Regions from separate parts of the Homo sapiens genome. Here all the other regions are linked to region 1. Evidence: promoter capture Hi-C in 16 types of primary human blood cells and fetal thymus (Javierre and others, 2016). All regions are on one chromosome and are shown on one strand. Each heading gives the region's core, a stretch centred on a gene start or on the middle of the fragment in contact. The rest is flanking DNA. Distances are from core to core; before and after follow the strand shown. Region 1 holds the start of ZNF648 (zinc finger protein 648). Region 2 overlaps RGSL1 (regulator of G protein signaling like 1). Region 3 has its middle 16 kb from the start of LINC00272. Region 4 overlaps RGSL1 (regulator of G protein signaling like 1).

Region 1 (3,513 bases), core at 245-2,744:
AGGAATATAAATAATTCTATTATAAAGATACATGCATGCATATGTTCAATGCCGCACTATTCACAATAGCAGACTTGGAATCAACCCAAATGCCCATCAATGATAGACTGGATAAAGAAAATGTGGTATATATACACCATGGAATACCATGCAGCCATAAAAAGGAACAGGATCATATCCTTTGCAGGGACAGGGATGGAGCTGGAGGCATTATCCTCAGCAAACTGGCAAAGGAACAGAAAACCAAACACCGCATGTTCTCACTTATAAATGGGAGCTGAACAGTGAGAACACATGGACACAGGGAGGGGAACAACACATATTGGGGCCAGTTGGGGGAGTGCGGGGTGGAGAGAGCATCAGGAAAAATAGCTAATGCATGCCGGGCTTAATACCTAGGTGAAGGAAGGGTTGATAGGTGCAGCAAACCAGCATGGCACATGTTTACCTATGTAACAAACCTGCATATCCTGCACATGTATCCCGGAACTTAAAATTTTTAAAAATCGTCAATAATAACAATGAAAGCAGCTAACGTTTTTGGGTACTTGCTATGTTCCAAACACCGAACTAAGCTCCTTACATGCATTATCTCATTTAATACTCCCCAAACTTCCATGATGGCAATAGTATCCTGGTCCCTGTTTTGCAGATGAGACACTAAGGCACACAGAGGTTAAATAACTTGCCCAAGATCACACAGCTAGTAAGTAGTAAGATTCAAACCCAGACCCAGACCGTGCTGTCAATCAGTATACTTTGTGACCACCTAGTGACATCACAGGAACCACACTTCCATCACCTATTTTAATGCCCTGAATGTTCATCCTAATAAATGCACATTAGACTTGAGTGGGTAAAAATTCTGAATGTACTGAGTCTTCTACCTTGGGCCAATCCTTCTCTTCAAAATGAACCTGCATGGGAATCAATGCTGAAAGTGGAAAGAGACCCCAGACAGGCCTGGCATCTGTATGCATAAGACAGAAAACCATCTCCCTGCACCCCTACTCCCAGTTAAAAGGCTGTGGGCATCTTTGAGCCAATGAATGGGCTGCTACAAAGAATTCTGGGAATCCCAACCCCTCACAGTTCTGCAACTCACAGTCCTGCAAAAGGTGGGTACTAGAATAGGGAGGTGGGCATATAGGCCAAATACTCTGTTCTGCCTTCCAGGAGGGAAAAAGCATGCTACCCAGGAAGCTCACAAGTGACATGTGGCCCATGGGCATACCAGGGCTAAAGTGAAGGATGGACTGCTCTGTGGAAGGAAGGAGTGAAAGTGAACAAGAGGCATAGGGCCACCTGCAGGAAGACTGAGAGGAGGGAAGGAGGAAGGCTGGCTTTGGCAGGGAGGGGAGGCAGGAGCAGAGGGAGCCAGAGGATCGGTTCAGGCAGTGAGAGAGGGCAGCCCCACTCTATTTCCCAGGCTGCTCTCTGGATGCAGGCAGGAAGGTTGAGTGTATTACACTGGCCCCACCTCCAGAGGCTCTCTCTGCAGCCGCTGGACTGGACACAAAGCGTGAGAGACAGAGACACCATCTCTGCTGATTTGTACCTAACTGGTTCCTGTTGCTGAGAGCCCACGTGTCACAGAAGCCAGGGCAGAGGCCCCACACTGCTGTCTGCATTTCCCAGGTAAGCAACCGTCTGTGTGTGAGCCAGGAGTGGAGAGCAAGGCCTGAAGGCGGTGAGCAGAGAAGAAAGTAGGAGGCGGCTGCCTAGGATGGACTTCAGTACAATCTGGAAAGAATGAAGGAAAGAAGAGGGGTATGGGCTGGGGTTGCAACAAGCCCTTAGGGTAGGCTTCTGCAGAGTGTTGATGGATGTATGAGGTTGGGGAGTCAAAGGCTGCATTTGGTCCACTCTTGGCTGGCAAGTGCAGAGGAAGTTCCAGCAAAGGACTGCTCTGACAGCCTCTGGGGACTAGCACATCTGGGGAGCAGAGAGGCCCGCCATACCATGGCATCAGTGTTCCTCTTTCAGACCAGGTATATTTGTGCAGACTTTGCCAGAAAATCCCTCCCTGTGCCCCTGCCTGCCTCCAGGTCTTCCTGGTGGTCGAGAGCATGCGTGTGGCAGCGACAGGAGGAAGAAAGCAGGACATATTCACTGGGGATATGGCTTCAGATGGAGGAGGGATACCTCATCTGAAAAGAGAGTCTCCTGACGGGCTCTGGAGAGGAGATTGGTTAGCTAGTGGAGGGCTGTGTGCCACCCTAAGGAGGCTCCCCTGTGGCCCAGAGGAAAAGAATGACACACAGACTGTGGAAAATGGGGTATTTGTGCTGGAGGTGGGGTGGGGAGCGGGTAAAGTCAGTGATCTGTGAACAGTGCCACAGAAACAGGCAGTATGTTGTCGTAAAGAGGGAAAGAGACCTAAGACATGTGTTTCATACAAATCCAGCATCCCTTTGCTGTCCCTGCTGGGGGACCTACAGCCCCGGATCAAGCCTGCTGGTCTGAGCAAGTTCTATGAGGTTGGCTAGTGGTATGTCCCCTCTATGAACTACACATTCACTCCCTAAGATCCACTATGCTGAAAATATGTCAGATCTGGGCTCCTGTCAAAAGGCATGCCAGCTACCCTCTGCCATGTGATGGGTGAGGGAAGCAGTGAGAGAAGAGGAGTGGTCCCTGGGCTTTAGGGCACAAAGAGACGTGAGATGCTGAATTCCAGTCACAACTGCAATGTGTCCTCCCTCCATCCATGGCTTCTGTATCCAGAGCAGAAAGTGAGGATTCCTCCATACTGCTCCCTCTTCATACACACAGGGTAACTGGGCTCATGATCAGGCAGAAACCAGGGAAGAACAGTTTAATGAGATGGGGATAGGGTTAACTGTACCAGCCAAATACAAAGATCACTCCTTTTATCCAGTCTGAGATGGCAGTGAAAGGTGGGCAGAGGTAGAGAGAAGGAGCTTTCAGAAGGTAAATACTCAGTGACTAATACTCTTGAGCACCACAGGCAGTGGCCTCTGCAACATGGGTCCTGGCTCTGATGGGCAGCCACTGGCCTCTCTCTTTGGCGGAGGGCAATCTGGGTCAATGAAAGCAGGGAGGAGCCCAGCAGTGAGGCCCTGTAGCCAAGGTTCCTTGGCCCAGAAAACACAAGGGGCTTTGATGCCTGCAGAAAGCCACGGCTTTTCACCCCAGGATGCTGCAGCTGCTCTTGGGCAGAGCCCAGCCCCAGAGCAGGCTTCAGTCTGAAGGCCACAGCTGGGAGGCAGGACCATTTGGGGCTTAATGGCCTTAAAATTAGAGAGAAACCCCACTGCTGCTGTCTATGAGCTGTGTGGCCTTGGGCAGGTAAGTAACCTCAATAAAGCTCAGTTTCCTGGTCTGTAAAATTGAAAGAATAATATAGTAATAATAGCATCTATCTTTTTTTTTTTTTTTGAGATGTAGTCTCGCTCTGTCACCCAGGCTGGAGTGCAGTGGCGCGATCTCAGCTCACTGCAAGCTCCGCCACCATGCCCAGCTAATTTTTTTGTATTTTTAGTAGAGACG
Region 2 (3,810 bases), core at 810-3,309, 420 kb before region 1:
AATTTTAGGGTTATCTACATATAAGATCATGTCATCTGCAAACAGAGGCATGATAGTTTTACTTTTTCTATATAGTTTCACTTCTTCCTTTTCTATTTGGATGCTTTTTTTTATTTTTTATTTTTCTTGTCTACTTTCTCTGGCTAGGACTTCCAGTATTTTGTTGATGAGGAGGGGCAAGAATGAGGATCCTTAGCTTGTTCTGGATGTTAGAGGGAATGATTTCAGCTTCTCGCCATTGAGTATGATGTTGCAGCAAGCTTTTCATAAATGGCCTTTATTGTGTGGGAGTACCTTCCTTCTATATGTAATTTTTGAGAGTTTTTGTCATGAAAATATTTTGAACTTTGTCAAGTAATTTTTCTGCATCTGTTGAGCTGATCATGTGATTTTTACCTCTAATTCTGTTAATGAGTTGCATCACAGTGATTGATTTGCATAGGTCAAGCCATCCTTATAACCCAGGGATAAATCCTACCTGGTAATTGTGTATAATTCTTTTAATAGGCTGTTGTATTTGGTTTGCTAGTATTTTTTTCTTTTCTTTTTAAAGACAGTATCTTGCCTGTCACCAGGCTGGCATGCAGTGTCACGAACATGGCTCACTGCAGCTTCAAATTCTTCCAGAAATCCTCCCTTCTCAGCATCCCAAGTAGCTAGGACCACAGGCACACGCCACCATGCCAAGATAATATTTTTATCTTTTATAAACACAGAGTTTTGTCATGTTGCCTAGGCTGGTCTTGAACTCCTGGGCTCAAGCAATCCCACTTCAGCCTCGCAAAGTGCTGGGGTTACAGGCATGAACCACTGCACCTGGCCATGCTCGTATTTTCTTGTGAATATTTGCATCTGTTTTCCTCAGGGATATTGACCCGTGGTTTACTTTTCTTCTTGTGTCTTTGTCTGGCTTTGGTGTCAGAGTTCTAGCCTCATAAATTACTTTGAAAGTGTTCTCTCTCCTTATACTTTTGGGAAGAGTTTAAGAAGGATTGGTATTAATTATTAAAATATTTGATGGAATTCACCAGTGACGCCATCTTGTCCCTGGTTTTTCTCTTTTGGGAAGTTTATTATTACTTCTTCAGTCTCTTTTACTGTTATTGGTCTGTTCAGGCTTTCAATTTCTTCTCGACTTAGTCATGGTAAGTTGTATGTTTCTAGAAATTTATTTCTTGTAGGTTGTCCAATTTGTTGGTGTATAATTATTAATAATAGTCTCATTATCCTTTTTATTTCTGTGAGAATAAATTGTAACATCTTTTCTTTCATTTATAATTTTATTTATTTGAAACTTCTCTCTCTTTTTTTTAAGCCTAGCTAAGGATTTGTTGGTTTCATTTATTGCTTAAGAAAACAAACTTAGTTTTATGTTTTTAAAAATTGATTTTCTATTCTCCATTTCATTTATTTCTTCTCTAATCTTCATCCTCTTCTTCCTTCTGATAAGTTTAGGTTTAGTTCTTCTTTTTCTGGTTCTGTGAGGTGTAAAGTTAGGTGGTTTATTTGAGATTTTTCTTTTTTAATGTAGGCATTTATTGCTATAAACATCCATCTTAGTACTGCTTTTGCTGCATCCCATAAGTTTTGGTATGTTATTTTTATTTTCATTTGTCTCAAGTATTTTCAAATGCCCTTTTTGATTTTTTTTGAGCTACTAGTTGTTTAAAAGTGTGTTGTTTAATTCTGTGTATTTATAAATTTTCCCATTTTCTATTCTTGATTTCTAGTTTCACTCCATTGCACTTGATAAAAAAAAATACTTGTGGCCAAGCGTGGTGGCTCACGCCTGTAATCCCAGCACTTTGGGAGGCTGAGGCAGGTGGATCGCCTGAGGTCGGGAGTTTGAGACCAGCTTGGCCAATGTGGTGAAACCCCGTCTCTAAGAAAAATGCAAAAATTAGGTGGGCATGGTGGTGGGCGCCTGTAATTCCAGCTACTCAGGAGGCTAAGGTAGAGGAATTGCTTGAAGTCAGGAGACAGAAGTTGCAGTGAGCCAAGATTGCGCCACTGCACTCCAGCCTGGGTGACAGAGCGTGACTCTGTCAAAAAAAAAAAAAAACTTGTAATGTTATTTCATTTTATTATTTTAGAGACAGGGTTTCATTCTTTCACCCAGGCTGGATTGAAGTAGTATGATCACAGGTCACTGTAACCTTGAACTCCTGGGCTTAAGTGATCCTCCTACCTCAGCCTCCCAAGCAGTTAGGACTACAAACATGTGCCACCACGTCTGGCTATGGAATATTTTTAATCTTAAATTTGTTAAGACCTTTTTGTGACTTAGCACATGATCTATTCTGGAGAATATTCATGTGCACCTGGGATGAATAATTATTCTGTTGCTGTTGAGTAGAAAGTTCTGTATATGACTGTTAGGTCCAGTTGCTTTATGAGGTTGGTCAGTTCTGCTCTTTCTTTGTTCATTTTCTGTCCGTATGATGTATCCATTATGAAGAGTGGGGTATTGAAGTCTTCTATTAAAGCAACACAATAATAATAGAAGATTAAGTTCTTCCTTCAGATCTGTCAATGTTTGCTTTATATATTTAGGTGATGATGTTGGGTGCGTATGTATTTATAATTGTTACAGCTTCCTATTAAATTGACCCTTTTATCATTGTATAATAACTTCCATTGGCTTTTGTGACAGCTTTTGACTTAAATTCTATCTTATCTGATTTAGTATAGCCAAATATGCTTTTTTGGGTTACCACTTGCATAAAATATCTTTCTTCAACCTTTCACTTTCAGCCTATCTGTGTTCTTAAATCTATCATGAGTCTTTTGTATCTTTGGGTCTTGTGTTTTTATACATTCATCTACTCAATGTCTTTTGATTGCAGAGTTAAGACGATTTACATTTAAAGTAATTATCGTTAGGTAAAGACTGTTGCCATTTTGTTAATTGTTTTCTGTTTTGTAGCTCTCTTCTTCCCTCTCTTTCTCTATTGCTGTCCTTCCTTTGTGATTTGATTGTTTTTTGTAGTGATATACTTTATTTTCTTTTTATCTTTTAGGTATCTACTATACATTTTTTGTGGTTACCATGAACCTTGCATTAAACATTTTATAGTCATAAATCTGTTTTAAGCTGATAACAACTTAACTTAAATTGCTTTAAGCTGATAACTTCAATTGCATACAAAATTCTGCACTTTTCTTCCTACTTGCCATAGTTTACATATTTGATGTCAGCTTTTATTTTTTCTATATTGTGTTTTCATTAACTAATTTCGGTGGTTATAATTATTCTTACAACTTTGTCTTAATTTACACACTAGTGTTCAAAGTGATTTATATACCTTTATCACAATATTACAGTATTATGTGTTTGTCCTTATATTTACCTTTAGCAGTGAGATTTATACTTTCACATGCTTTTGTATTGTTATTTAGCATCTTTTCATTTCACCTTATTCTTGAAGTTCCTTTAGCACTTTTTGTAAGGCAGGTCTAGTGGTGACAAACTCATATTTTGTTTGGGAAAGATTTTTTTTAAACACTTCTTCACTCTCAAAGGATAATTTTTCTGGGTAAAGAATTCTCAATTGCCAGTTTTCCTTTTCTTTCCTTCAGCATATTGAATATATCATCCCACTCTCTCCTGGACTACAAGGTTTCTGTTGAGAAATCTGCTGATAGCCTTTTTGAGCCTCCCTTTTATATTACAAGTCACGTTTCCCATTCTTCTTTCAAAATTCTTTGTCTTTGACTTTTAATAATTTATCATATGTCTGAGTATGAAACTCTTTAGGTTCAGCCTATTTGGAGATCTTTGAGTTTCAGAAATCTAGGTATCCATTTCTC
Region 3 (3,779 bases), core at 773-3,272, 360 kb before region 1:
GACTTTGAGATTTGAAGCTTTTGCTAGTCCTCTGAGCTTAGTAATCGTTATGCACACGAATCACTTTTTAGTGACAATGAAACTTCAGTTTACCTGCCATCAAATTGTTTAGGAAACTGGAATGAAAATAGTTTTTGGTTTTTTAGTCTTAAAACCATTTTAGACATTAATATTGTTAAAGTGTGTTGAGCCATCTCTGCCATCTTTGATAAAGTATTTTGAATGTACTTAACTTTTAATTGTTTATGGCTCACTTACTTATCCTGTCCCACATCATACAGGAGCACCATGAGCGGTGGGAGAAGGATACAGGGTGAGTGCTGTGATTATTTACACTTAGCCCCAAACTGTTAAGATCTTTTAGGATTTTGTTCTGCTTGTCAGAGTTTATTCTCTTGTCAGACTGCTATCTCGTTCTTTCCACTGTCAATGCGAATTTTCTTCTTCAATTAGTATGTTTCTTATAATCTCCTATTATGTAGGGAATGAATCAGTTAGGCAAACTGGTTAACATTGTGTCTAAAGAAAGTAAATTGGCTCTGAGTAAAGTGGCTCTTTGCATAATTCACTACCCAAGACTTCAGAACATTGATTCTAGCTGAAGTTTTTAAGGGTAATCTTTTGTTCTTTTTTTTTTTTTTTTTTTTTTTTGAGACAGAGTCTTGCTCTGTCGCCTAGGCTGGAATGCAGTGGTGTGATCTTGGCAAACTGCAAACTCTGCCTCCCAGGTTCAGCGATTCTCCTGCCTCAGCCTCCCCAGTAGCTGCAATTACAGGTGCACACCACCACACCCAGCTAATTTAGTAGAGATGGAGTTTCACCATGTTGGCCAGGCTGGTCTCCATTCCTGACCTCAGGTGATCCGCCTGCCTCAGCCTCCCAAAGTGCTGGGATTACAGGCATGAACCACTGTGCCTGGCCTGTCCTTTTTTGAACATTCTCTATATTTTGAATACTTGAAGTTTCTTATATATGATTTTTTAAAAGATAGTGGAGTGCAACTGAATGTGGATTCTCAATGATTCCACGATAACACCTAATTCCATGCACAAAAGTGTCAATCTGGGCACCCTTTCACATTTCCTTCTTGTGTGACATCGAATATTGCCCTGTCCTCTCCTCTCTAAGCATTCATGCTGGCAGCACATTGTAATGAAAAAATTGGCTTTCAAAGTTGGGCCATCCAGTTGAATTCCTAATTTTTCTCGCTACATAAACTTGGAAAGTCACATAGCTACTCTGAACCTCAGAAATCATCATCTATTTTAAAAGACTGATAATTGTACTTAGTCACTAGGGGGCTGTCAAAATTGAGAATAATAATGCTAGTAAGAGTATTTTCTAAAAATATTATCATTATCCAAGGCAACATTTTCACATGTCCATGTTTTATCTATTTTATTCTTTCTTTTTTATCTATTTATCTATTTTATTCTTTAAGCTTTTAGTGCTCCTTTGCCAAGGTTTATTGTGAGTTACTCTGTGACAGATGCTAAGTTAGGTTTTATATGTTTTTTATCATTCAATCTCACAAAAAATCCTAATTTATGTTAATAATAATGCCAGTTAGTATCTTCATTTTGAGAATGAGGAAACTGAAGCTTAGAAAGCCTAAGTAATTAACCCAAAGTTCATGCAGTTAATACACGTTACAGTCAGGGTTTAAGTTCAGGCAGACCAAGTCCAGACCCCAGCCCCAAGTCTCCACACAATGACAGAATTCAGATATCTTGGCTTGGGGTGTTGGGGCTGGGGATCAGGGAAATAGAAGAGGTGATTTAGGGGATGAAATTTGCAAAGGCCCCTCCGATCACACCCCAGAGGCAGTCCTGGCTGCTGGTTCCCATAGTTAACCTTCAGAGTTCCACTTTGAAGAAATTCAAACTCCATTCTAGAAGGAGGTGTCAGACTTTCTTCCCTCATAGGGCACAGTGGGCTTCTATGCCTGCCCATATGGAGCTGACACTGCAGCTTCTCCATGGCAGAATGAAACAAGCAAGGCCATAGCACTCAGGGAAATATATCTGATGTCTAGATAATCCCAGCCAGGGCCTAAGACCTCTTCACAGCCCAGCTACTAACCAGCCTTCAGATTTTTTATTTGCAATAAGAATTTGTAGCTTTAGATATTTCATTCCAAGTCAAACAGGTTTATTTGAAAAGAAAAGTAAAAAACAGTTAATAATCCAATAGAAAGCTATAGTTTTGAGCTACTGATAGAGCCAAAACTCACCAGTTTACAAATATTGTCTTTGCCTACTTGTTCCCTCTGCCCATGCAGCTGCCCAGCCTCTCAGTATCAAAAGCCCCAAGATCAAAGTAGGCTTTATTCCTGGAATGCAAGATTGGTTAAACACACAAATCAATAAATGTGATTCACCACATAACGAGAATTAAAAACAAAATCCATATGATCATCTCAATAGATGCACAAAAAGCTTTCAATAAAATCCAACATTACTTCATGATTAAAAACCCTTAACAAAGTAGGCATTGAAGAAACATATCTCAAAATAATAAGAGCTGTCTATGACAAACCCACAGCCAACACCATACTGAATGGGCAAAAACTGGAAGCATTCCCTTTGAGAAGAAGAACAAGACAACGATGCCCACTCTCATTGCTACTATTCAACATAGTAATGGAAGTCCCAGCCACAGCAATCAGGCAAGAGACAGAAATAAAAGACATTCAAATAGGTAAAGAAGAAGTCAAATTATGTCTCTTCACTGATGATATGAATCTATACCTAGAAAACACTAAAGGCTTTGCCAAAAGGCTCCTAGAACTAATCAAGTTAGTAAAGTTTCAAGGTATAAAATTAGTGTAAAAAATCAGTAGCATTTCTACTTACCAATAATAATCAAGCTGATAGTCAAATCAAGAAAACAATTCCATTTACAATATCTACATACACAAAAAATACCTAGGAATACATCTAACCAAGGAGGTGAAAGATCTCTACAAGAACTACAAAACACTGCTGAAAGAAATCATAGATGACACAAACAAATGGAAAAACGTTCCATGCTCATGAATTGGAATAATCAATATTATTAAGATGGTCATAGCAATCTACAGATTCCAATACTATTTCTATCAAACTACCAATGTCATTTTCCACAGAATTAGAAAAAAATTCAGCCAGGCACAATGGCTCATGCCTGTAATCCCAGCACTTTCAGAGGCTGAGGCAAGAGGGTTGCTTGAGGCCAGTAGTTCAAGACCAGTGTGGGCAACATAGTAAGACTTCATCTCTATTAAAAAAAATTTTTTTTTTTTTGAGACAAAGTTTCACTCTTGTTGTCCAGGCTGGAGTGCAATGGCATGATCTCGGCTCACTGCAACCTCTGCCTCCTGGGTTCAAGCAATTCTACTGCCTCAGCCTCCTGAATAGTTGGGATTACAGGCACCCGCCACCACGCCCAACTAATTTTTTGTATTTTTAGTAGAGGCGGGGGTTCATCATGTTAGTCAGGCTGGTCTTGAACTCCTGACCTCAGATGATCCACCTGCCTCAGCCTCTCAAAGTGCTGGGATTACAGGCTTACAGGCGTGAGCCACCACGCCCAGCTATTAAAATTTTTAAAAATGAAAAAGGTATTCTAAAATCATATGTAACAAAAAAGAACTCAAATAGCCGAAGCAAAATGAACAAAGCTGGAGGTATCACATTACCTGACTTAAAGTTATACTATAAGGCTACAGTAACCAAAACAGACACATAGACCAATGGAACAGAATAGAGAACCGAGGAATAAAGCCACACAGCTGCAAT
Region 4 (3,493 bases), core at 441-2,940, 500 kb before region 1:
AGTTCTTGGTCTATTCTAGGTACAAATAAAAATAGGACTTGGTCTCTGCCCTACAAAAGCATGTAGTCTAGTAGGTGAGACACATACATGAATAAGTATCTCAAGGAGAGGAAAAAATGTGTCTCAGAAACTAAGAGGAGAGAGTAAGAGGAGAAAGGGGAATCAGGAGGTATCACAGTGTGATGTCTGTGTGATGGAGAAGAAAGGGAAGGGCCCTTTAGGCAATCACCAAGTTGCTGGAGAATGGTGTGTATGAGATAGAGAGAGGAAAAAGATAAACCTGGAAACCTGAACTGAGGCCATATTAGCAATGGCCTTGTATGTCCCACAAAGGAGTGAGACTTTTCCAACCAGGTGAAGGAGGGGAATAAAAGCTTTCACGCTGAGGAAATGAGCAGGTCAGATTTGTTCTCAGTGTGTGGGATGAAGCAGAGTGTGTTGGGTGTGTGTGGAGAGGGGAATGTGGTGACTTCACAGGGCCAGTGATGGGGACAAGGGCCCGACAAAAGCAGTGCCAGTGGGATAGAGAGGAAGGTCTGGATAGCAGCGACATGTCCAAGGCAGAGTGGCAGAACTTCCCTTTCCTGCATGTAAAATATGGGAGGGGAGGCAGAGGAATGAGTTGAGGATGATTCTGAGTTTTCTAGCTTGGAAGATGGGGTTGATTGGAGAAAAGAAATAAAGGGGCCAAAACTGATTTGGGATACATTAAATTTGTGCTGTGGATCCTGTTAGAATGGATTAAATTTGCAGTGGATCCTATTAGAGGAGAAGCTAGGGGCTAGGGATCTCAAGCAAATGGGAGAGTGCGTTGTAAGAAGGTAAGTTCAACAGGAGAGCCACAGGGAGCACTGATATTTAAGGAAGAAGCAGAAGAAATGTGAAGAAGAATCAGAAAGAATAGTCAGAGCTATGACAAGAGAAAGAAAAAAATGGTGTTCCCAAGTCTCTAGGAGGCAATAATCGCATCAGAGGCCCAGATTGTGCGTTCATACATTCTTCTCTAAGGAAGGTGGTCTAGGACCATGGTCGGTAGAATTTCTGGTGACCACCCTAGGATATCCATGCTCTAAACTCTAGAATCTGTGAATGTGTGACCTTACATAGCAAAAGGAATTTGGTGGGTGGAATTAAGGCTAAGGACCTTAAAACAGAGACATTATTCTGGATTGTCTGGGTGGGCCCTTAAAAGGGAGTTGGGAGGCAGAAGAGGGAACCAGAGAGATGTGATGATAGAAGAAGAGGCAGGAGAAATTCAAAGAACGGGCAGGACTTGACCCACCATTGCTGGATTTAAAGACAGAGGAAGAAGGCCATGAGCCAAGGAATGCAGGTGGCTTCTCAGAAACTGGGAACGGCTCTCAGCTGACAGCCAGGAAGGAAGTGAGACCTCCATCCTGTACCTACAATGACTGAATTCTGCCAATAACCTGAATGAACCAGGAAACAGATCCTCCCCAACAGCCTCCAGAGGGGAACACAGCCTTCCTGACACCCTGATGTTAGCTTGAGTCCCAGGTCAGACTTCTGACCTACAGACTTGTAAAATAATAATTTGTGTTGTTTTAAGCCACTAAGTTTCTGGTAACTTGTTATGGTAGCAAAAGGAAACTAACACAGGAACTGAAGTAGGCCAGGTTCCTTACCTGGTCCCTCTTTCTTGGCCTTTTCCTTAGACGGCAGTGGCCCCTGGATCTAGTGTTGGGACGCCTTTTCCTCCCCTCCCATATTTTTTATTCAAACTAGACCCAAGACCCAAATCTAATTTCAAGGGCAAAGAAAAATATTAAAGCAAGGAATGCAATTTGTTGGGCTGTGGGTCAGTCTTGTCCCTAACTAAGTTTTGTTTTAACTGTAATGTTACAGACATTTTTAATTTCTCACTTTTTTCCTTCCTTCCCTCCTTCCTTCCTTCCTTCCTTCCTTCTTTTTATTCCTAAGTAGAAGCTCTGGCAACACCAGGTTGGCTGGCTTGAGCGGACTGTCTCTGACCCCTTTGGGACACGTTCTCCAGTTCACCACAGTCTCTACCACTCCTTCTTATCTCTCATGGACTGCGTTACTCATTTATACACCCTGCCTGTATTCTACAGGTGACTGACTTAGTGACACTAGACTAACTGGCATTAGAACATGTTAGATCTGGGATCTTTGAAGGGAGCATGTAAGAAACCGAAAGAAGCAATCAACAAAACTTAACAAAAGAGAAGATTTTTTTTTCCAACTCAGGGAAGACCTAATAAGTATCATTAATCCTTTTAAATAACATGTTTGTGTGTTTGCATACCTACACATGAGTATAACCATGGTGAATGTGGAGAGAAAGATAATTAAGAAATAGGAAGATGGGGCAAAGATCTAAGTTCAAATAGATCAGGAAAAGTACCTTTCTTTTCCTTAAGTGTGGCCCATCTATTGCCAACATGCAGGTTCACCCATGTCCCACTCCAATGTGAGTGTATTTCAGTATGTGACCACGAGTTAGTATTTTGCTAGATCCTTGTCAGTCACCTTGTTGCTGGCCTAACATCCTCTCTAGTTTCATGCCTGGGGCTTGTGACTTGTTCTTTTTTGATGAAATGCTTCCCTGTTACCTCAATTCCACTAACTGAGCTCTTCTTTATTCCTTACCTGGGGTCTTGCCTTAGTTTTTGCCTGATTTTTAGGAACTGGGATTCTGTTTCATGCCCACTCTTCATTCTATTAATTGCAGTCCTGTTCTAAAGCTCTAGCCCTGATAGGGAAGGGAAGACTCATGCCCTTTTGTCTAGGCCTTCCTGTCTTGCTGGGCCTTCTCCCAGGGGCCCAAGGGGCTCTCCACACCTGGCCTTTTTTCAGCCTCCTCTAGAGTCATGTCTGCCCACAGTCTTCCTGGATCTCCTGCAATCACAGCCCCACCAGGTGACCTCAGAGTCTCAGGTGTTCATGAGTTCTGCTCCAACATCACCTTTTTCATCCTTGTGAAAAGTCTGGGAAATAAAAAACTTCGGCACAGCAGGAAGCTTTGGCCAGAAATTTGAAAGTATTCTCCAAAAAGCTTTCCAGTCCTTTCCTATTCTGTAACCCACAGAGATGACAAGCCAACCTGTCCTCAGTTACCTCAGGTGGAGGGCTTGTTCAGGAAATTCTGACTCATTTTACTTCTGATTTTTTTTTTCTCAAAGGAGAGAAAATAGGCCTATTCATTTAAAATTATGACAATAGTTTAGGGCTTTAGGTCAAAAACCTTAAAGTTTTTTTATCCACTAGTTGGCAAATGAACAGAACTCTCGGGAAGAACTATTCCTTTTGTGCATGAAAAGTTACATAAAAGGTTGGCATAGAACAAGAACAGGACAAAAAATCAGAAATGGTGTGTTCTAGTCCAGATGCTGCCATTTACTGCCCAGTAATCTTAGGAGAGTCACTTACCTTCTCTGTGAGTCAGATTCTTTAACTGTTTAAAAATAAATGAATTCTGACATGGTTGCCCACAGGGTTGTTGTGAGGACTT

The links. Contacts are between HindIII fragments. The CHiCAGO score rates a contact against its expected background, and 5 or more counts as called.
Region 2: a fragment that was not itself captured here is called in contact with the fragment with the promoter of ZNF648 in region 1 in 1 of 17 cell types (neutrophils); the score reaches 6.8 in neutrophils.
Region 3: a fragment that was not itself captured here is called in contact with the fragment with the promoter of ZNF648 in region 1 in 1 of 17 cell types (erythroblasts); the score reaches 6.2 in erythroblasts.
Region 4: a fragment that was not itself captured here is called in contact with the fragment with the promoter of ZNF648 in region 1 in 1 of 17 cell types (neutrophils); the score reaches 5.2 in neutrophils.

The regions. Positions count from the first base shown.
Region 1 is chr1:182,059,693-182,063,205 of GRCh38, reverse strand. ZNF648 (zinc finger protein 648) reads left to right here and starts at 1,494. Exons shown (of 2, transcript NM_001009992.1): 1 at 1,494-1,638. The HindIII fragment of the contact is 14,548 bases long and covers 1-3,513 here.
Region 2 is chr1:182,478,713-182,482,522 of GRCh38, reverse strand. All of the region lies in intron 6 of RGSL1 (regulator of G protein signaling like 1), which reads right to left. Among named protein-coding and RNA genes, the nearest start is that of RGSL1, 30 kb to the right of the region's middle. The HindIII fragment of the contact is 3,594 bases long and covers 263-3,810 here.
Region 3 is chr1:182,421,387-182,425,165 of GRCh38, reverse strand. No RefSeq gene overlaps it. Among named protein-coding and RNA genes, the nearest start is that of LINC00272, 16 kb to the right of the region's middle. The HindIII fragment of the contact is 837 bases long and covers 1,604-2,440 here.
Region 4 is chr1:182,556,489-182,559,981 of GRCh38, reverse strand. The region is part of intron 21 of RGSL1 (regulator of G protein signaling like 1); the gene reads right to left. Among named protein-coding and RNA genes, the nearest start is that of RNASEL, 31 kb to the left of the region's middle. The HindIII fragment of the contact is 2,628 bases long and covers 377-3,004 here.